7 separate regions of the Homo sapiens genome follow, and all the other regions are linked to region 1. The links are contacts of gene promoters, found by promoter capture Hi-C in blood cells and fetal thymus (Javierre and others, 2016). All regions are on one chromosome and are shown on one strand. The core of a region is centred on a gene start or on the middle of the fragment in contact, and the rest is flanking DNA. Distances in the headings are between cores, read along the strand shown.

Evidence for each region. The method cuts DNA at HindIII sites, captures the fragments that hold promoters and counts their contacts. A CHiCAGO score of 5 or more calls a contact.
Region 2: a contact is called between a fragment that was not itself captured here and the fragment with the promoter of GTF2A1 in region 1, in 2 of 17 cell types (non-activated CD4 T cells and naive CD4 T cells). The highest score is 11.0, in non-activated CD4 T cells.
Region 3: a fragment that was not itself captured here is called in contact with the fragment with the promoter of GTF2A1 in region 1 in 3 of 17 cell types (non-activated CD4 T cells, total B cells and total CD8 T cells); the score reaches 10.7 in non-activated CD4 T cells.
Region 4: a contact is called between the fragment with the promoter of EXOC5 here and the fragment with the promoter of GTF2A1 in region 1, in 9 of 17 cell types (naive CD4 T cells, naive CD8 T cells, total CD8 T cells and 6 more). The highest score is 30.6, in naive CD4 T cells.
Region 5: a contact is called between a fragment that was not itself captured here and the fragment with the promoter of GTF2A1 in region 1, in 3 of 17 cell types (total CD8 T cells, fetal thymus and non-activated CD4 T cells). The highest score is 10.1, in total CD8 T cells.
Region 6: a contact is called between a fragment that was not itself captured here and the fragment with the promoter of GTF2A1 in region 1, in 1 of 17 cell types (total CD8 T cells). The highest score is 6.3, in total CD8 T cells.
Region 7: a contact is called between a fragment that was not itself captured here and the fragment with the promoter of GTF2A1 in region 1, in 1 of 17 cell types (total CD8 T cells). The highest score is 6.3, in total CD8 T cells.

The regions. Positions count from the first base shown.
Region 1 is chr14:81,219,354-81,222,376 of GRCh38, forward strand. GTF2A1 (general transcription factor IIA subunit 1) reads right to left here and starts at 1,606. Exons shown (of 9, transcript NM_015859.4): 1 at 1,136-1,606. The coding sequence starts at 1,165. It overlaps GTF2A1-AS1 (GTF2A1 antisense RNA 1), which reads left to right and starts at 1,865. Exons shown (of 2, transcript NR_135252.1): 1 at 1,865-2,172; 2 at 2,286-3,023. RefSeq lists enhancers at 1-328, 201-270, 311-400 and silencers at 741-860, 1,391-1,440, 1,471-1,770. The HindIII fragment of the contact is 3,079 bases long and covers 1-2,599 here.
Region 2 is chr14:45,089,096-45,092,118 of GRCh38, forward strand. The region is part of intron 1 of PRPF39 (pre-mRNA processing factor 39); the gene reads left to right. Among named protein-coding and RNA genes, the nearest start is that of PRPF39, 6.5 kb to the left of the region's middle. The HindIII fragment of the contact is 2,933 bases long and covers 93-3,023 here.
Region 3 is chr14:54,486,286-54,489,308 of GRCh38, forward strand. It overlaps GMFB (glia maturation factor beta), which reads right to left and starts at 2,695. Exons shown (of 7, transcript NM_004124.3): 1 at 2,640-2,695. The coding sequence starts at 2,642. RefSeq lists a silencer at 2,378-2,777. The HindIII fragment of the contact is 1,280 bases long and covers 776-2,055 here.
Region 4 is chr14:57,267,338-57,270,360 of GRCh38, forward strand. EXOC5 (exocyst complex component 5) reads right to left here and starts at 1,568. Exons shown (of 18, transcript NM_006544.4): 1 at 1,285-1,568. The coding sequence starts at 1,311. AP5M1 (adaptor related protein complex 5 subunit mu 1) reads left to right here and starts at 1,634. Exons shown (of 8, transcript NM_018229.4): 1 at 1,634-2,051. The coding sequence starts at 1,978. RefSeq lists a silencer at 999-1,058 and enhancers at 1,368-1,951, 1,599-1,798. The HindIII fragment of the contact is 4,317 bases long and covers 1-3,023 here.
Region 5 is chr14:58,244,924-58,247,946 of GRCh38, forward strand. It overlaps PSMA3 (proteasome 20S subunit alpha 3), which reads left to right. Exons shown (of 11, transcript NM_002788.4): 1 at 1-18; 2 at 2,827-2,909. Among named protein-coding and RNA genes, the nearest start is that of PSMA3, 1.6 kb to the left of the region's middle. RefSeq lists enhancers at 1-829, 1-393. The HindIII fragment of the contact is 2,580 bases long and covers 219-2,798 here.
Region 6 is chr14:58,288,678-58,291,700 of GRCh38, forward strand. PSMA3-AS1 (PSMA3 antisense RNA 1) reads right to left here. Exons shown (of 4, transcript NR_029435.1): 2 at 2,958-3,023. LINC00216 (long intergenic non-protein coding RNA 216) reads left to right here. Exons shown (of 1, transcript NR_146595.1): 1 at 1-476. Among named protein-coding and RNA genes, the nearest start is that of LINC00216, 2.2 kb to the left of the region's middle. The HindIII fragment of the contact is 1,019 bases long and covers 899-1,917 here.
Region 7 is chr14:59,478,023-59,481,045 of GRCh38, forward strand. L3HYPDH (trans-L-3-hydroxyproline dehydratase) reads right to left here. Exons shown (of 5, transcript NM_144581.2): 2 at 1,160-1,329. Among named protein-coding and RNA genes, the nearest start is that of L3HYPDH, 4.9 kb to the right of the region's middle. RefSeq lists an enhancer at 2,846-2,945. The HindIII fragment of the contact is 1,109 bases long and covers 1,006-2,114 here.

The sequences.
Region 1 (3,023 bases), core at 356-2,855:
AGCAGCTCTCACTATTTAAAGCCGGATCTGGTGTTTAAATGGAGAGGCGGTGACGTAGGCCTGAAAAGCACCTTCCCATCCTGGCAGAGTCTATATTAGAGAGCGGCAATGGCTCTATATAAACAGGGCAGCCAAAGGGAGGAGGACCACAAGGCTCAGGGACTGAAAAGCAGGGTAAGCGGCCGCAGCCATGATGGTTAGACCCGAGTCGCCAACGGTACGGTGTCGGGCGGCCGCGGGCTGGTCTGCGGCATTTGGGACCGGGCAAAAAACGTGTTTTATTGTCATCATAAAAATAAGAGTTGGGTGGACTAGTGATCACACTGCGTTGGTGACTGAAAAGGTTATTTATGTGACTGCTTTTTGCAAACCTACGTGATCGCAAGTAACAAAAAGGGACCAACGGGAAGAAGTAGGTAAATTTCAAGGCGAAAGCGGGGACACTTGGACCACTGCAGGCTTTTTTTGTTTGTTTTGGTGCTTCTGCTAGGCGAAGATACGATGGGGGTCTTCCCCTTCGCCATTTTACCCATTCGGAAGGAACTGAGATAAGTGCTTTTCAACCAACCTTCGTCCTTTTTTTAAACATAAAATGGCCTCAGAGAAGGTTCCCAAAGCACAGCCGCCAAAAACAACCTAAGAAACCCCCAAAGTAACCATTAATCTTCCACTGCATTAAAGTGGATCACGATGGGTCTCGGGGGTTCGCCCGATTCCCCACACACAGTTTTTGTTCTGTAGCCACTCGGGGAGCCCTCGTCAAGCCAGCGCGGACGGGCCCCTCGGGGGGAAGCGGCGGCTCCCCTCCCGCCCTCCCTCCCGGCGGCCGGGTTCTGGGGCCGGGGCTGCGCGCCCGACCGGGCCCAACCGCCTCCGCGGCCCGGCCCGGCCCGCGGCGGCCCCAGGCCCCACCGGCGCCCCCGCCCTCCCCGCGCCGCGAGCCCTCGGCGCCCCCCCGCGCCCGCCGCCCGGCGCTCCGGCCCGATCCGCCCGAGGCGGGAAGCGGCGGCGGCGGCGGCCGCGCGGGCGGCTGAAGAGTCGAGGCCGGGAGTCGCCGCCGTCCCCGCCCCCGCCCGGTCCGGCCGTTGCTGCAGCCTGAACGAAGCCCCCGCCGGCCACCGAACCACGTCCTTACCACGGTGTTTGTATTTGCCGAGTTCGCCATTTCCACACACAACACAAACAAGAGGGGGCAACCCCAAGAAAACAAGATAAAAACAAAACCAAAAAAAAAAAAACTATAACACCCGGAGGGTGACCCAAATCACCGCAAGATTGGGGAAAAAATTTTAAACAAAATCAATCCTGAAGGAGTAGGGGAGAGCGGAGAGAGGAGGAGGAGGGGGGCACTCCTCCCGCAGCTGAAAACCTCGAGAATCGCCTTAAAAAAAAAAAAAAAGCCACGACCCTTCAGGGGTCCGGGGGGCGTTGCCCGCTCCCCACCCCGCGCCAAGGAGGGAAACCACCACCGGTCACCGCTCCCTGCGCCGCCGCTGCCGCCACCGGCTGCAGCTCCAGCCGTCCGGTCCGCCCGCTTCTCTCCTTTATATAGCGAGCCAACAAGCTGCGCGAGCCACCACCGCCGCCGCCGCCGCCGCCGAGAGACAGGGTGAAGGGGGAGGGAGGGGCGGAAAGGGCGGGGGCAGAGGTGGGCGGGGCTGAGCGCGAGACACCGCGAGAGCCGCGTGCGCAGGCGCGCCGGGGCGGAGGCCGCCGGCGAGCCGCGTTGTCACGCGCCGTGGCGGGTACTGGACTGGCGGAGCCCGGGGAGTGAAGTAGTGAAATCGGACCTACGCCTCTCCAACGCTCGCGTGATCACGTGGTTGGCACCCAGGCGGAAGTCTGCGGCAGTTCTTTGCGGTGAAGAACTTGCAAAGCGTTGCTGGAAAAGACGGGAGTTCTACTGACACTCCAGTCCAAAGCTAGGTGGGACCGCCTCCTGTCGCACGTTTCCGCCTGGTCCCGCGCTTTAGGAGCTAGGAAATGTGACAGAGGCGGTGCCTACTGCCTCGCTAGGAATGGCCGCGGAGGAGGACTGGTCACGTGGCGTGGCTTCCGGCCTCTGGCGCGTTCCTATTCGGGAAGGTTTTAAATGCGGAGTCATCTCTTGATTTGTCAGCGAGGCTTTGACTGTGAGCTTCGCGGCGTTCGCGCCTCACCGCCTCACCGAGGGTGGGTCTTTCGCGCGCAGAATTGTGTAGGATTTTCCAAAGGGAGTAAAAGCCGATCGGGGCCTACTTTTAACATTCCACAATTAGTAACGTCTGATTCGTTTGTTTCCACAGTGGGTACGCTGCGAAGACTAGGCTTATGTTACCCAGAGGTTAGTCCTCTACTAGGCCACGTACTTTAAATAATTTATCACGCTAGTGGAAATGCGGGGTGGAAGAAAACCCCACCAGCCTTTGGATTGTAACAGCACAGTAACTTTCCCTGGTTTTTAAAAATATTGCCAAAATACTGCGACTCCATGTGGCCAACGTATAGTGACTGATCACTTTGAAATGCATGCCCTTGACCCACCAACTCGCATGGCCTCTCGCTATAAGAGAGCAAGCCGGCTGTGTTCCATGTTCAATTCAATAAGTGCAATTCAATAAGCTTTTGACTTGTTCTGCCCAAGCAAATCCTGCCTTTATATCGACCTTGCAAGCAGAACAGAGAATGCTGTTTGGAAGGCAGAATTCATAGTACCTAGTTTTCTTGTCCCTGGGAATTTTGAGGGACTTGAAATGTCGCGTGGATGAGTGAGGGAGTTTGTCTTCCAGAGACAAAGCAAAACGAAACGTCAAAGTTCTGTGCTGGTGAAACCAGATTTGAAGAATATCAAAGGCGTCTTACCAAAGAGGAAAAAAAATGCATCTTGCCAAGACTTGAAGAAAGGGATTAGAGAAACCAGAGGCCTTGAATACTCAGAAAATGGGAGATTGTGAATGGGTGTAGAGGATATCTATGAACCTTGACATTTCTTTTCACGCCAAGTCCATTCCCCTGTTAACAGTTGCTTCCCAGTTTCCTGCACA
Region 2 (3,023 bases), core at 309-2,808, about 36 Mb before region 1:
AATTTGATGTAGTCCTATTTGTCTGTTTTTGCTTTTGTTTGCCTGTGCTTTTGGCATTATCCAAGAGTTCACTGCCAAGTCCAGTATCATTAAGCTTTCCCCTACGTTTTCTTCTAGGAATTTTATAGTTTTAGGTTTTACATTTAGGTCTTTACTTCATTTTAAGTTAATTTTTACATGTAGTATAAGACCAGGGTCCAACTTCATTCTTTTGCACGTGGATATCCAGTTTTCCAAGCACCATTTGAAGAGACGATCCCTTCCTCAATGAGCAGTCTTAGCACTTTGTTGAGGGCCATTTGAGAAGGGAGTTTATTTCTGTGTTCTTTATTTCATTGGCCTATTTGACTGTTTTTATGTCAGTATCACACTTGATTTCTTTCTTTTTTTTGAGGCAGGGTCTGGCTCTGTCACCCAGGCTGGAGTGCAGTGGCACGATCACGACTCACTGCAGCCTTGACTCCCACTTCAGCCTCCGGCTAATTTTTGTATTTTTTTGTAGAGAATGGTTTTTGCTATGTTGCCTGGGCTGGTCTGGAACTCATGGGTGATCGGCCTACTTGGCCTCCCAAAGTGCTGAGATTACAGACAGGAGCCACTATGCCTGGCCCGTTTTATTTCTTTCTTTTGATAGCTATTCTGTACCCTTTCCCATTTTATGTTGCTAGTTGAAAATTATTGGTTGTTGTTAAGAATAAACTGATAATAATTGACATATAAATAATATGTTGGAGTAACTCATTAAAAAATAACTTTAGTGTATTCTTTTGACTCTGTGATTTGTGAAGTAATCATCAAAATGATCTCTATAAGCATAAGGTTGATGTTCTTAAATCTTTTTACAACACTGTGATTGCAGGGTGTGGAGTAATTGACAGGCTCTGAAGATGCAGGGGTGTGGTAAATTTGCTGATTCCAGAAGAAACCCTTATGTCTCACCTAAGTGTGAAATTAGAATAGGGTAGCTAGTTAATGACTCAGAATGTATCAGCCTACAGTCTTTTTTGTATTTTGTTTTTAGACTGAGCTCTGAAATACAAAACCACAAACTAGTGACTAATTTGCATTTGGAAAATTAATCTTCAAACGTATCTTTTTCTTTAAAGGAAGAGGGAAAAAGAACAAAATAAATTTACAAGTTACTTTGCCTTTTCCTAGGGCCTGAAGTGATTAAACTTGGAAAAGTTGATGACATTAATCATACATTGAACTAGAAGGGAACTTATTTTTTCTGGTAGTCTACTACTTTGGACTCTCTTTTATTATGCATTGGCTAGATTTGCTTTTTCTGTAATTTTTTCTCAAATTCTTTTGTCCATAATATGGCTCCATGCTACTTTGCTTTTACCCTTCTACTTCTCAATACCAACCTCTTCATTCTGGTCATTCTGTGTCTCTCTTATCTTTTCAGTCATCATTTCTACCTTCTTGTCTGCTGTCAAGGAGAGTTGTTTAATGGGTTGTTCCACATTCTAGAATAGTTTACCATTCTTTTTCTATTATTCCATAATTTTTCAAAGTTAATTATATTTCATGTTTTCATCTATAGATTGCTATTGTTTTCAAATGATTTTTTCAATAATCTTTCACTTTGTTTCATTTGAGAGCTTATCTCCAAATGTGTGTGTGTATGTGTTTGTGTGTGTGTGTATGTGTTGTGTGTTAGCTCTTTCTCTACCTGGTTAATAGACATTAGTGAGTAAGGACCTTATCTTACACTTATATGTCACTACGAGGAATGTAATACAGTGCTGGACATCCATCAGGCATTGAAAATTTTTTGTCCCCTTCCCCCATCCCCACATGTCCCATTTTTTCCTTTCAAATTTTTGTGTATTCCCTAGATTTACCTGGTTATAGCTAATTCTTTCAATGGCATTCAGACTCAGAAGGTCTTTTAACATTTAAAATTTATTCTTTCTTAGGAAAAAAATAGTTTCATACTATTTGTTCTTTCTTTTTCTTTTTCCTTGTTTTTAATAGAATCTTGCTCTGTCTCCCAGGCTTAGGAAAAAAATGGTTTCATACTATTTGTTCTTTCTTTTTCTTTTTTCCTTGTTTTTAATAGAATCTTGCTCTGTCTCCCAGGCTGGAGTGCAGTAGTGTGATCGTAGTTCACTGCAGCCTTGAACTACTGGATGATCAAGTGATTCTCCCACCCCAGCCTCCTCAGTAGCTAGGACTATAGGCACACACCACTGTGCCCAGCTAATTTTTAGATTTTTTTGTAGTGATGGAATCTCACTTTGTTCCCCAGGCTGGTCTGGAACATCTGGCTTCAAGCGATCCACCCACCTTGGCTTCCCGAAGTGTTGGGATATAGGTGTGAGCCACCTTTCCTGGCCATGCTACATTTTGAAATGATGGAAATGTTTTAGAATCTGGGTTTTGTATCCGTGTGACAATTTTAAAGGGTCACACATAGACACATGACCCCGAATGCAAAACTAATATGACAAACTTATAATAATATTTTACAATTTTGCAGAGATCTGGCTTTCTTAGTTTACGAAGAGTGTATACAAACCAATAAGAAAAAAATTAGTAATGAACAGAAAATATGGGCAAAAGATGTGAAAAGGCATTTATGAAAAAAAGAAATAAAAATTTTACTTACTCATAGTTAAGGAAATGAAAATCAAAATGAGGTGCTACTTTGTTAAAAAAAAATTAGATGAGCAAATGATAGCTATTGTTGCCGGGGATATAAAGCAATGGACAGTCTCATGCACTGTTGATGACTTAATTGGTTAGGAATTCATTTTGTCTCAAAGTAATAGAAAACTTGTATATTGATAGTAGTTTAAACAAATAGGAATTTATTTCCTTACACAATAGGAAGGTGGCATTTTGTTAGAGCTTGATGATGTCAAGGTTGGTATTTCTTAATTTTCTTGGCCAATCCCTTATAGACTACTTCATGGACATGAATCGTTTCAGATATGGTCAAATCCAAGGTAAGAATAAATTGGTAGAAGGAAGGACCACACTAGTTGTGATTGTCCCTTTTTATCAAAAAAGCA
Region 3 (3,023 bases), core at 166-2,665, about 27 Mb before region 1:
AACTCTCAGCATATACAAAAATCAAATCAAAATGGATTAAAGACTTAAATGTAAGATCTGAAACTATACAACCACTAGAAGAAAACACTGGGCAATTGCTTCAGGACATTGGTCTGGGCAAAGATTTTTTTGAGTAAGACCTCAAAAGCACAGACAACTAAAGCAAAATAGACAAATGAGATCATATCAAGCTAAAAAGCTTCTGAGAGGAAAGAAAACAACGAGTGAAGAGACAACCTACAGAATGGGAGAAAATATCTGCAAATTCTCCACTCAACAAAGGATTAATAATCAGAATATACAAGGATCTCAAACAACTCAATAGCAAAAAATTCCCATTTAGTCCTAATAATAGTTAACATGTATCAGACCCTATGAGAGAAACACTGTTATATCCTTTACATAGATTTCCTTTTATGTTCAAAACAATCTCACGAAACAGATACTATTATTACTCCCATTTTGCAAGAAACTAAGGTTTAGAGAGGTTAAGTATCTTTCCCCAATTACATAGCTAGTGGAGCCAGGATTCAACCCAGGCAGCCTATCTTAACTCACTCTCTTAACCACTACAAAGGAGGTGGTGACAGATTGGATATTGGGGGTGGGGGTGGGGTGTGAGTAAGCAAAAAAAAGGGTTACCAGATATACTAGGCTTCTGGCTGGTATAACAGATTGTCTTGTATAACAGACAGAAGACTAGGTTTGAGGAGAAAGGGCATGAGTTCTACTTTGGACAAACTGAGGTGGCTTTGAGGAGACCAAGTGGAGGAAAAGCTTCCCAGGGGAATGGTAACTAAATATTGAAATATTAATATATAGATCTGGGGTCAGGCGCGGTAGCTCACGTCTGTAATCTCAACACTTTGGGAGGCCGGGGCAGGTGGATCACTTGAGGTCAGGAGATCGAGACCATCCTGGCTAACATGGTGAAACCCCGTCTCTACTAAAAATACAAAATTAGGGCCGGGCGCGGTGGCTCACGCCTGTAATCCCAGCACTTTGGGAGGCCGAGGCAGGTGGATCACGAGGTCAGGAGATCGAGACCATCCTGGCTAACACGGTGAAACCCCGTCTGTACTAAAAATACAAAAACAAAATTAGCCGGGTGTGGTGGCGGGAGCCTGTAGTCCCAGCTACTCGGGAGGCTGAGGCGGGAGAACGAACGGCGTGAACCAGGGAGGCGGAGCTTGCAGTGAGCGGAGATCGCGCCACTGCACTCCAACCAACGCGACAGAGCGAGACTCCATCTCAAAACAAACAAACAAAAAAACAAAATTAGCCGGGCGTGGTGGCACATGCCTGTAATCCCAGCTACTTGGGAGGCTGAGGCAGGAGAACTGCTTGAACCTGGGAGGCGGAGGTTGCAATGGGCCGAGATCCCGCCATTGCACTCCAGCCTGGGCCACAAGAGTGAAACTCCGACTCAAAGAAAAAAAAGTACATACAGATCTGGATTGGATCTCAGAAGCAAGGTCTTCTGAGCTGTAAATTCACAAGTCATCTGAATATAGATGGTAACTGAAGCCATAGTTTAGGATGAAGAATACAGAATGGAAAATGAAGGATTAGGATGAAACCTGGGACTCCTTCGAGCATTGTCCAGGGAAAGGAGAATAGTCTGAAAGGGAAACAGATGGACCAATAGGAGAAGTAGGAGGAGCTCTGTATCCCAGAAGCCAAAGGGGAAGAATGAAGGAAGAGAATGCTTCAAAAACAAGAGAGTATAACACTCTGGAATGCAGCTAAAAGGTCAGAGAAGACGAAAACTGAAAAGAATCCATTCGATTCAGTGACCATGACAAGATCTATTCGATGAAAGTGGGCTGAGAATTGAGTGGATGGTCACAGAGAGCAGTGTTTTGTTGTTTCTAATGAAATTTACCCATATTTTAAAACCTAATGGGATGGATCCAAAAGATCCTTGATGGCGATTTATTTAATTTTCCACTTTATTTTTATGCTTGGGGTCCATCCCATGTAAGAACAGAAGCCACAGCCCCCAGAACCAACAAAACTAAAGTTATTGACAATTACTTTAAGGCCCAGTGCCAAAGCTTTGGGTCGAAAGGTTTCCAACTGCCATAGGAAAGCAAAGATAAGGAGAAATCCTCTGTAGGAAGCTAGGGAAAGGAGCAGAGAGAAAGAAGCTAAGGTGAGGCCGAGAGAATTCAATCGGAATTCGAGTCCTCCCCCAAAACGCCGCCAGGTGGAAGATGCTCGGGGCCCACCAACCCCTGGAACCTGGCCACGGCCCTGGCAGGGAAAGCAGGAATTGAGGGAGCCCTCCGATGGGGCAGACCCCTTTCCCTCCAACCTACAGCTCAGAAGCTGAAGCCCTCCAACCAGAAGGACCTGGCGTGGGGCCTCCCCAACCCCCCTGCTCGTGGCCGCACCCTAGTCCCATGGCCCGCTGGGCGGGTCCACCCCGGGCCCAGCTGGAAGATGCTGCCCTGAGGCGTGGTGGCGGCGGCAGAGGCCAAGTACTCTAGCTATGGGCACTGGCCAGCTGCTGGGAGCGGAAGCGGCCGCCGAGCCCTCCTGGGCGCTGCCCGCCGCCGCCGGCTCCGGAAACCGGGAAAACCCGGCTGGCCGGCTCGCCCAGCCCTCCGGCCCCCGCCCTCCCAGCGGCAACTCACCATTTTCCTTCCGGCCGTCAGCGGCCTGTCGCCTACACTCGGGCGCCTTTAAGAATGGCACGGCGGCCGCCTCCCTTCCTGCCCCGGCGCCTGGCCCAGTCGCCCCCACCTATCAACGCGGCCTCAGCGGGCCGGCACGTGATGGCGGACGGCAAAAGGCGCGGCTCAAAATTAGACAGAATGCGATCGCCTGATTTTTTTTTTTTTTTTTTTTTTTTTTTTTTTCTTTTCCCTGCTCCCTCTAGAGGAGGACGCTCTGCCTGGCTGCAAGTGAGAAACAAACCCAAGGTGCATACTTAAAAGTCATGCCAGTTCTCCGGACCTTTTTCGCAGTCTTCAAGCTCTGAGAGCATGTTAATGGTGACATCAATGTTTTCAATGGTA
Region 4 (3,023 bases), core at 318-2,817, about 24 Mb before region 1:
TAACATATATTACTCCTCTCAAAAAAAGCATTATCTATCCAAAAGCTGACTGATATGCAAAATATAGTAACAATAACAAATGTAAATTTCCATTTGTTATTAAAACTGTGGCATTCAAATTGTAAGCCACAAAAACTGCTGAATCTTACGCAGAAAAAGGATACCATTTTCACTTATGGAGAAGTTCCCTATTGTGGATTACAGTCTTCTCAATTATTACACTTTTGTTACTCAATGTGAAACACAAGCACACACACAAAAAAGGGGTCTTTCTTTCCTTTTTCTTATCCGTTTTCATTTCTTTCACACAAGGAGATGCTTTATACGTGTCATTGTTTTGTAGCCTAATTAGAGTTTTCCTATTCTATTATCTCAAACTTTTATCACAGCTTCTTACAACGGACTTCACGAAATTAAATTTTAAGGTTTAGATACTGTAAACGCTCGAGGAAAGACATTAGTATTCTCACTATTACATATTAAGGATTCTCTAGCTTGCAGTTAGGTGATTTTATAATACATGTAAATGCATATAATACACTTAAGGTGCATTATATACATGAAACGAAGTGTTCGTTTTATTTTATAAACTTTTTTTATTTTATAATACACGTAAATGCCTCGAGTGTATTATTATGTATTACATGAAATAAAGTGTTCACTTGAATTTTGCCTCCCTTCAGTCTATCTCTCTTCAGTCGAAAGAGATAAGTAGGCCTTTATTGTCCAAAAAAAAAAAAATTGTCCCAGCCTTTTCAAATGTCAGGTTAAACTGGCAGTCCTATGAATGCCACCTGCAACCTTACTAATGGAATAATTACTCAAAACGAGAAGCCCCCAAGAGTCCCGATCTCAAGTGGCTTCCTCCTATTATTCCCGCGAGGACCCCAGCGACAAGACTCGCCCAACCTGAGGCTCCTGGCTCTCTTTCCTCGTCCTGAGTCAGCCCTTCCCACTACTCATCCGGAGTAGACATCTTCCAACACCCGAACCTTCCAGACTTTCCCTCTTGCCCCCACAAACAAAAGCAACCCTCCTCCCTTGGGACACCCGGCTTCCCCTCTCTGCCGACCGGCCGCCCAGCCCACCTCGGCCCCAAGCACCCCTCCCCCATTTCACGCTCCGCCCGCGCTGACACGGAGCTGCCACCCCAACCCTTCTGTTTCGCACCTCTCTCCCGAGGGCTCCTCCTGGGCAGCCAGCAAACGCCCGCTCCTCGGCCCGCCCACCCAGCTGCCTGCAAACCCCGGGCCTGCCACTCCCTGTAGAGCCGCCGGGGCCCACCTCGAAGAGCTCGGCCGTGGTAGCCATCCCGGCCGGCTGAGAGGCTCGCCCCCCACTGGATGCCGTCTCCGCTTCACATGCTGCGCCTCAGAGGCGCGGCGCACAGGTCTCCGCTCGGCTCGCCAGCTCCGGCTCCGGGCCGCTGCGGGCTCCCCAGCTCCCCACAGATCCCAGGAGGGGCGGGAGAGCGGCCATGAAGCGAAGCCGCAAACGCTTGTCAGCTGCCTCCCGGCGCCGCCCGCGCTGCTCCCATTGTCACCGCCTCATACGCCGGAAGTGGAACTGCGCGCGCCAGGGAGGTTGTCGGGAGGGGCCGGCGAATAAAACGAGCGGCGAAAGAACCGAAAAAAGGCTCGACGCTACCGTGTATGAGGAACTTTGATCCTTGCGGGCCACCATTCCGGAAGTAGAATTTAGAGGAAGAAAATACCGGAGTTGCAGGGTATAGGTAAATTTCTCAAGGTTATAGGTTGGGGTTCTTAGAACTTTTTGTGGTGTGTGTTGGCCTAGAGCGACTCAGAAGCGTTAGTGACTTCACCTAAAAAAGCTAACCTCTCTGCTGAGCGCGACCGGTATGCGGCGCAGGATGAGCCTCAGGGCTTCTGTTAAGAGTCTGTCTGAGAAAGCCGGTCTGCGCTGTTCCTCGGTGGCGACCTTAATTATGAGATGAGCTAATGCTTTACTGACTTAACCATGGCGCAGCGGGCAGTGTGGCTCATAAGCCACGAACCGGGAACTCCACTTTGTGGCACCGTGAGATTCTCCAGGTAAATGCAAATCTGAATCCTCAGGGATGATGGATCAGAAGATCGATGAAGTAGCATAGTTTTGTGGTGCTTCGTGGCCCAGGTTTGCCACGAATAGCTGCGTGACCTTGGGCTAGCCAGTTAACAGACCTCTGTTTCGTCTGTTAAATGGAGATTTTAATAGTCCTACCTTACAGTGTTGTGAGAATTGAGTTGATGACTGGTACATATTATTTACGGTATATGTTTTCTATTAGTATTGTGTTTTAAAATGACCTCCGTCTGCTTAGAATTAAAATGGAGATGACTAAGGGAACGGTAGAAAATTTACTGAGCACTAAACATTTTCAGATTTTTCAACATGCATTGACAAAATCGTTCCAGAACATTTTAACTTATTCTACTGAAAAATCCATGCTAAGTTATATCAGACTTTTATTTTTTTGTTTTTATTTTTTTGAGACGGAGTCTCGCTCTGTTCCCCAGGCTAGAGTGCAGTGGTGCGATCTCCGCTCACTGCAAGCTCCGCCTCCCGGGTTCATGCCGTTCTCCTGCCTCAGCCTCCCGAGTAGCTGGGACTACAGGCACCCGCCACCACGCCCGGCTAATTTTTTGTATTTTTGGTAGAGAGGGGGTTTCACCGTGTTAGCCAGGATAGTCTTGATCTCCTGACCTCGTGATCCGCCCGCCTTGGCTCTCAAAGTGCTGGGATTACAGGCAGGAGCCACCGCGCCCCGCCCAGGCTTTTATTTTTATCTTGTTAATATGTGTCAATGGTAGAAATCATCAGTTTACAGTTCCTAATTGTTGAAGAAAATAGAAACACAAAAAAATGTATTCACTATTTCATATATTGTGTTAAGTTGATCTGGTCCCACTATTAGAATTTGCCCTGTGTAATCAAAATAGCTCTGTTAAGGGAATTGTACAGTAACTCATTGTAAAATGTTGGTGGCAATCGAGTGGGTCTATTTCACCTTTTATTCTCTGGCC
Region 5 (3,023 bases), core at 259-2,758, about 23 Mb before region 1:
AGCTCAATCGGCACTGGGGTGAGTTCGCTGTCTGTCGGTGTAATAGTTTAACCTAAGGATTGGGGTTGAAGGGAACTCGGACAGACCACATGGGGTTCGCGGACCCGGGGTGCTCTGAGACCGCCTTCGGCTGGGTGGGCCATTTGCAGCTGTTTGGAGACCGGTCGTCTTTATCCCCTATATGCTAGGCCTGCGTCTCAGGTGACCGTGACTCCTGAAGCTTTTCAGCGCAGGTGTAGCCGGCTTGGCGTCGCCGCAGTGAGGTTTGGAGCCGCTTTGGATTGCTGAGTCACTTTCTTCAGCCACTTAGGGAAACCGAAAGTGGAAACTCGTGGGGCTTGAAATAGTGTGTTCTCTTGAGAACCACCGAGGCAGTGAGATTTGGGATTCCGGGGTCTGGAGATCGTGCTTTTTGTGGACTGCGTTTGCAGTTCCTAGGGTGCTGCTGATTCACAGGCCTTCTCTGTCTTTAAGTGTGCAGATCATTGACCGCTCAGTTTAAGAGTCACTGGAAATCCTGTCGGAACAGAACTAATAAAAATGGTCTGAAAAACAATCTGATGAATCCTTCAGTTTTTCCTTTCTCGTTTTTCCTATACAAATTACCTAACAGCGCTTGTAGGCATTTATTCCGTAAACGTTTAAATGGTTACTTAGGAACTTAACAGCTTCAGACTTTTCATAGACTGTTGAGGATTTTGCAGTGGGACTTGTTAACTTGTTTGGCTTTCCTTTGTTAAACGTATTGCATATGTGCAGTCAGTTTACTCCTTTTATGTACTTCTCTATATAGAAAATACAGTTTCTAAAAGATTTATTGGTTATTTGCACTAGAGTTATTGAATAATGAGTTTCTCAGTTCCTCAATTTCTACTTCTTAACAAGATTCTCATGCTCAGCCTTAAGTTCAAGTACCGGTGTTCTAAATTTGATAATAGGCAACTTATGTCTGGAATGGTTTAATCCATTCAGTTATGAATGCTAAAGTTCTGCCATACTTTTCTTGGATAAGTAAATGCTCAATATTAAATCTTGTAGCAAACTGACTTTGCAATTATATTAATATTACCTTGAATTAATAGTATTTCATTCTACAAACCTTTTAAAGAATACTTGATAATGTAACCATGTGGGATATTTTAGTAACAATGGTAGGGTTAATGATCTGGGTTTAACAGATCAGGAAACAGACTCAGAAAGTACCACTGCTGAAGGCTTTTCTTCTGTCTTCATTTCTCCCAAGAACTCCAGATACGAATATTTGTTTGTCTGCTTGACATGTCTGTTCACTTGATCGTTTAATAGTCATTTCGTACTGCATGTGAAAGTAGAGCTCTGGGTTTTCTCCTCACCTTGCCATTTTGCATCTACTACAGTCTTCAGCTCAGTGAATGGTCATATGAAAAAATCTGTTATTCATCTTTAATTCCTTTTTTTACTTTACTCCCAGAACCAACGCTTTAGCAAGTTTATTTTTTTATTTTTATTTTGTTTGAGACGGAGTCTTGCTCTGTTGCCAGGCTGGAGTGCAGTGGCACGATCTTGGCTCACTGCAACCTGTGCCTCCCAGGTTCAAGCAATTCTCCTGTCTCAGCCTCCCGAAGAGCTGGGACTACAGGTGCGCACCACCACGCCCAGCTAATTTTTGTATTTTTCGTAGAGATGAGGTTTCACCATGTTGGCCAGGATGGTCTCCATCTCTTGACCTTGTGATCAGCCCGCCTCACCCTCCCAAAGTGCTGGGATTACAGGCATGAGCCATCACGCCTGGCCTAGCAAGTTTATTTTTATTATTTTTATATTTTACTCTACTCTCAAAAAATATTCCCTTCTACCTCTTCTCTCGTCTAAGCTACTACCGCTATCTTTGGAACACCTTATCTTTGCTTCTGTTGTTCTCTCTACAGCTTATTTTCCGCATAAAGCCAGAATGATGTTTTTAAAAATATAGATGATACCACTCCCCCTGCTTAAATTTCTCATTGCATTTAGAATAAAATACAGAGTCCTTTTTCCATCCTGGAAGACACAACATAATCTGGCCCTCAGCTACCTCACTAACACAGTTTACTCTTCTTTCTGCTGCTTACAGTGCTTGGGACACAGTGACCTTATTTCTGTTTCTTGACTGTGCTAGCCTTATTTCTACCCTAAGATCTTTGTGCCAAATGTCAAGAAGACTTTTCCTTCATATCTTAAATGGCTAGCTCCTTGTCATTTAGGTTTGACTCAGCCTAAATATAACTGCCCAGAAGGCCTTCCCTGATGATGTAGTCTGTAGTAGTTCATTGCTTTACTCTTTTATTTTCATCTTAGTGCCTTTTCTGATTTACTGCTGTACCTCTAGCACCTAGATTCATGTCTGATGTGAAACTGAAGGACTTAATGAATGAGTATACCTTTGTATTCCGTATAGTAACATAATAGATACTCATTAACTGCTTGGTGAATGCCGAATGATTTGTTTGAAGTCTTTTAGTTTGTTAATGGCAGAGTTATCGTTACAAATTTAAATGTTCGAACTCCAGTGCTGGTTCTACTGCCCCATATTAATCTTTTTCAAAAATGAGTTTTGTAGTCTGGGTGAAAAGTGTTCTGACTTCACCTGGGACCTGTATCCATTACTCTTCAATAGCTGAAATCGAAGGTATATAGCTTTATCTTAGCTACTGTTGCTGCTCTGACAAGTTTCCCTTTCCTCTCTTGAAAGCAAGGTCTTTGTTGGGATATAACAGGTTCCTGATGTTTCAGCCATTTAGAGGGGAAGAAACTGTATGGTCATTACTGCCAAAGATACAAGCTTACTGTTGCCCTTTTCTCCTTAAGTATGACCTGTCAGCCTCTACATTCTCTCCTGACGGAAGAGTTTTTCAAGTTGAATATGCTATGAAGGCTGTGGAAAATAGTAGGTAAGAAACATTTAACCAGGTATTACATGTCTCCTTTTATTTTATATATTTTTGGCGATTAGGCTTTGTTATGTTACTTTGGTACAAATTAGTATATGTCCCCAAATCTCAATT
Region 6 (3,023 bases), core at 158-2,657, about 23 Mb before region 1:
AACTAGCATGTTTAAAACAGATTTCATCATCTTTACCAACCAGTGGCTTTTCTTGACTTGCCAAATCAGTGAATGGTACTGCTCGTTCCCTCTTTCTTAAATCTTGAGTATGTTTCATTTTCTTTCTTCTTCACCTCTATAATCAGAGATCAAATGCTGTCAAGTTTTCCTCCCCCCACCAAAACAATTCCTTGCTCACCTATTCCTTTCTCTCTCCAGTTCCTACTCTAGTTTCATCTCATGCTGATACCACTTCAACAGTATCTTGTCTCCCTACTTCCAATTCCTGTGTCATTTCTTCAGTTACAATGGGCATTGTTTCTAAATAATTTTCCAACACTGTATTTTGTTTATGACATGCCTTTCTGTGCCTATTCAAAAACTCTCAGCAAAAGTAACTAAAATTAAAAGGGAAATCTGTATGGAAAAATATGTGCAGCAAGTTACCACTATAATAAACTCAATCAATTAAGAAATAAAACATCAAGATTCTAATACATAATTAGAAATGTGAATAGACAACCTGTAAAAGAATCAGTAAGTGAAATCACAGAACAAGGTCCCATTTCACTAATTCACAACAAAAACACTATAAAGAAAAAAAGAGCTCAATGTATTTTGCACCTATTAAATTAGTAAAAATGAAAATTATAGACTATTTAATGCCACTAGCTAAACTCACAGGGAGGGTGATAGTGTAAATTATAACCAGCTTGAAAAACAACACAGCAATGTTTCAGGAGTCATAAAAATGTTCATACAACGACTCTTTAAATGTACTCCTAAAAGAACAGTCCAAAAGAGAAAATACTGTATGCATGCAGAAGATACCTGAAGCACAATACTGAAGCACTATGAAACTTACAGTCATGCAATAGAAAAATGAAAAGGATAAAAAAGCTTGATGGAATATTTTCAGACATTAAAATCATTATAGAGACTGTCCATTACACTGAATGCTTGTTATAATGTTAAAGGAGCAAAGAAAACCAAAAACTACCCTAAGACTAAAGAAAATACATACAAACAAGGAGGAAGGAAATTTTAAAAATCTCTTAGAGTGGCATTAAAAGTGATTTCTTTTTTCTTTTGAGACAGTCTCACTCTGTTGCCCAGGCTGGAGTGCAGTGGTCCAATCCTGGCTCACTGCAACCTCCACCTCCCAGGTTCTCCTGCCTCAGCCTCCCGAGTAGCTAGGATTACAGTCACGTGCCACCACGCCAGGCTAAATTTCGTAGTTTTAGTAGAAATGAGGTTTCACAATGTTGGCCAGGCTGGTCTCAAACTCCTGGCCTCAAGCCATCTGCCCACCTTGGCCTTCCAAAGTGCTGGGATTACAGGTGTGAGCCACCATGCATGGCTGCATTTTATTTTGTTTAGTTCCATTATAATTTGTAAAACTTGAAATAAGACAAGACAAAAATAATGGTCAATTTCTGCTTACTCCCAATCTTCCAAGACCCTCTAGAACCCTGTAACACCCCATTGGACTCTGATGTGCAGCTAACCCTAGAAACAGGGGTAGGTTGGCCACACAATTTTCCCTAATCTTCAGCCAATCATCCTTTCTGACCTGGTTTACCCTCTGTCCCAAATACATATTTCCTTGTATTCTTGCTCACAACCTTTCATCCAATTAGAATGTCTTCTCTCCTTCTAATTTTACACATTATATCTCACTATCCTTGAAAAGCCTTTAATAACCATTATAAATTTCTTTCTGCTCTGCTTTCTAAAGCAATTTGTCTCTTTTAAAAGAACCACTAGATCTGATTGTATACAGAACTTTGACAAATCTATTATCAGGAGCCATGTAAGTCTATAAATAAGGTTATATAGATTGCTTAAATATTTTGAAATAACTACTTAGATTAACTTTCCACATGTGTAATTACATTCTCCCTTTTATTGACCTTAAGCTTCTGGAGCACAGATCCTTGTAGGAAAGCCATTATGTAACTCATATTTGCTTGAATCTGAATCCTAAAATACGCTGTCATTCCAGTTTGAATTATACGAACCATTATCTATGACTCCATGTGGCCATAAAATCAGCAGATAAATCTGACACGGTGCCGGGCGCAGTGGCTCATCCCTGTAATCCCAGCACTTTGGGAGACGAGGCGGGTGAATCACGAGGTCAGGAGTTCGAGAGCAGCCGGGCCAATATGGTGAAACCCATCTCTACTAAAAGCACAAAAATTAGCCGGGCGTGGTGGCATGCACCTGTAGTCCCAAGCTACCCAGGAGGCTGAGGCAGGAGAATCGCTTGAACCTGGGAGGCAGAGGTTGCGGTGAGCCAAGATCATGCCACTGCACTCCTGCCTGGAGGACAGAGCGAGACTCCGTCTCAAAAAATAAATAAATAAATAAAAATTGAATAGGGCAAAAGACAACATAGAAATTTCAAAGTCTGCTTTGGTTACAAATAAGTAAATTATGTAACTTTCCATAAAATAACTAAATCTTTAGGAAAGCTGCTACATTCAACACAGCAATCATTTCCACTTCTCAATATATACTCGTGTACAGAAACAACTGCACAGTTGAACAAATTCTATGTTTTTTTTTTTTTTGAGACGAGTCTCACTCTTGCTGCCCAGGCTAGAGTGCAGTGGCACGATCTAAGCTCACTGTAACCTCCGCCTCCCGGGTTCAAGTGATTCTCCTGCCTCAGCCTCCCAGGTAGCTGGGGTTACAGGTATGTGTTACCACGCCCGGCTAATTTTGTATTTTTAGTACAGACAGGGTTTCACCTTGTTGGTCAGGCTGGTCTCGAACTCCTGACATTAGGTGATCCACCCACCTCTGCCTCCCAAAATGCTGGGATTTCAGGCGTTTTAGCCACCATGCCCGGTTATCATTTTTCAAAAGATACACAGATACACACACACACACACACACGAGCAACATGACCAGTCTTGATTACCTAAGAGTAACTAAGTAAAATTACTTACCACAAACAGATCGCAGATCCAGGTTTCTCAAACTGGAGCATCTGCTTAATTTTCCCATAAAATCAG
Region 7 (3,023 bases), core at 310-2,809, about 22 Mb before region 1:
AAAACTAGAGTTATTTAAGTAGTTATTTGAGTAACTTCTTAGCAATGTAGGAAAAAAATAATAGGAATTAATGTTCTCTATGAAATAAGAAAAAGGCTTAAATCTATTCTGTACACTATATTTTACATTTATTATTTTCAAGTTTAACAGAATGACCACACACATGCATTTAAAATTTGCAGAATTCTATAAATATATTTCTACACATTTAAGGAACTATAAACTATATTAGTATGTATGTATTATTAAATTTAGTAACTGCTAGGTGTGGTGGCTCACACCTGTAATCCCAACACTTTGGGAGGCCGAGCTGGGAGAATCACTTGAGGCCAGGAGTTTGAGGCCATCCTGGGCAACATAGTGACATCCTGTCTCTATATAAACACACACACACACTCACACAAACACAGATTTAGCTGGGTGTGATGGGGCATGCCTGTGGTCCCAGTTACTCTGGAGGCTGAGGCAGAAGCATCATTTTGAGCCTGGGAATTTGAAGTTACAGTAAGCTATGATCACACCACTGCACTACAGCCTGGGTGACAGAGCAAGACCCTGTCTCAAAAAAAATAATATTATCATTTACTGAACATTTACTATTGGCCAGACACTACTCTAAGTCCTTTACATGTATTGACTTATTTCATTCTCACAACCCTACAAAGCAGGTATTTTTTAATTTCCATTTTGCAGACAGGAAAACTGAGGCATATGGAGGTTACGTAACTTGCCCAAGGTTATATACGTTACCAGTGGTAAAGCTAGAACTCATAGATAGTTTTGCTCTAGAGCAGGAATGTCCAATCTTTTGGCTTCTCTGGGCCACACTGGGAGAAGAATTGTCTTGGGCCACACATAAGATACACTAACACTAACGAGAGCTGATGAGCTAAAAAAAAATTGCAAAAAAACTCATAATGTTTTAAGAAAGTTTACAAAATTTGTGTTGGGCCACATTCAAAGCCATCCTGGGCTGCATGTGGCTCACAGGCCACGGGTGGGACAAGCTTGCTCTAGAGCCTAAGATTTTAATAAGTACCCTATTCTTAGTACTATTAATAATTTAAACATCATTTAATTTTCTTTATAGACATAATAATGTATATTTCCTCCATGCCACAGAGAAGGGAATTGGTTATGAAGGCAGAGTATTACTGACCTGAGCTTTCACTGCCTCTGTCACTGCACTCGCTGCATCCACAAGGTCCCTGGTCTTTGCAGAACAAATGTCTAGTCCTAACTTTTCAGCAGTAACAAATGCATAAAATGCACCGCCATATGCAATGTCCACCATCACCTTTCCATGTCCAGGAACATCCACCATGAGATCTAAAAAAAAGATGTGTTTGGAAAGAAGATGTGTTTGTTAATAAGTATTTTAGCAATAAAATTCAAAGGATTTTTAATATGTTTATTTTTCAAGAGGGATGTTCTTTTCCTATCATAAAAATAATGAAGTAAAAATCCGTTTTTTAAATGAATAAGCATCGAGTGAATAATAGCTAGATGCATCATTCTATTTTTAACTTGATGATTGCAGAAGTTATAAACTAAAGCCATGCTTTCCCTAACTCATACAGACATATTCATTAACTTCCCTGAGGATCTTTTCTAGGAAACACCCCTGAGGCCGAGAGAGGGAAACCCAAGGGCATCCCTGTGAACACTAAGAAGGAAAATGTCTATTCCCCACTTGTACTATGAGAGATGGTTTAAAATAGTGAGGGTCTTGGATCCTATTTACAAATCAATTTTCTTCAGCCGTAATGTCAAAACATAAATTTTAATAAAAGATTTTTCTATATAAATTATATACACTTATCTACATGTTTTCATCTCCTTAAGGTATCCTGCAGGCAAACACAGAAAAATGCCATTGTAGAATCATTGACTGCTACAGCATCATTTTGCACCAGGGTTTTTATTTGAGCATTTTAAGTCTCAACATCCCCAAAGTTTCACCTGAAGGTCAGTAGTTTGAAATCTTGAATCTGTATTTCCAAAGAAAGGGGGCTGGGTGATGTTTATTTCGCCCCTTCTCAAATTTTCCTCTTCCCTAATTTAAGCTAGCTTGGTGATCACTGCCTTTTAGGGAAGCCTATGGCAGGGGAGAAAGCTTGTCTTTCATGTTTTTATTTTAGGGAAGCCTAAGCTCTCAGGGGAAAGACATCTGTTGGCAAAGGAGTGTCCTGAAGGGAGAAATATTTCTCCTAGAGATAAATTTTTTCTCCCTTGAGAAGAGTGGAGGCTGAAGGTCCTTAGTGCAGAGAGGACGTGTGTTAACTTCCCCCAGGGCACCACAGGAGCAGGAGTGAAGAAACAGAGGATGGGGAGGCAGTGCAGAGGGCAAGGACCAGGTAGGGTGGGGCAGCCAATGCTCCTGCTCCACTTTGCTGGTTAACTGTGTAAGCTGAGGACTGAAGTGCCATCCTCTCCAAGGCCACAGCACTTTTAAGAAACCTTTGCTCACACATATCAGGAAAGGGGACAACACATGGAGTGATGAGGCTAAGTGAACCAAAAGGACAGAGTAGAGTTTCAGCTTCAGAAATTAAGTTTTGGGAAAGAAAATATATCTTGTGTTCCTGAGTTTTCATACAAGGTCATACAAAGATATCAGTATGCTATCAGTCCACAGAAGGCTATCAGTATGCTATTAGTCCACACTAGTCCACAGAAGCCCTTTTAACCCATGATGTGTTAAAACAGAGCAAGTTTATAATCAAAAGAGTAAAACATGCTGTGGATTGTAACAACAAAACTGAATAAAAAATGTCTTTATCTTGATGCTGGCGCAACATGAAAAGCAAGTTTAATGAAAAGAGAATGGGCAAGTTGATAGAAATGAGGGACTGCTGGAAGGTGGAAAGCTAAAGTGAGGGTGAAGATCAGCACTTACCAGGAGACACAGGTGACGGTCCCAGGGTTCAGTCGGCCTGCCCTCTTCCCTTGATTGTAACAACTAAATGGGGCATTGGCCACCAATCCCGGGACCAGGATGAAATTGGGAAGCTGGTTCAGGA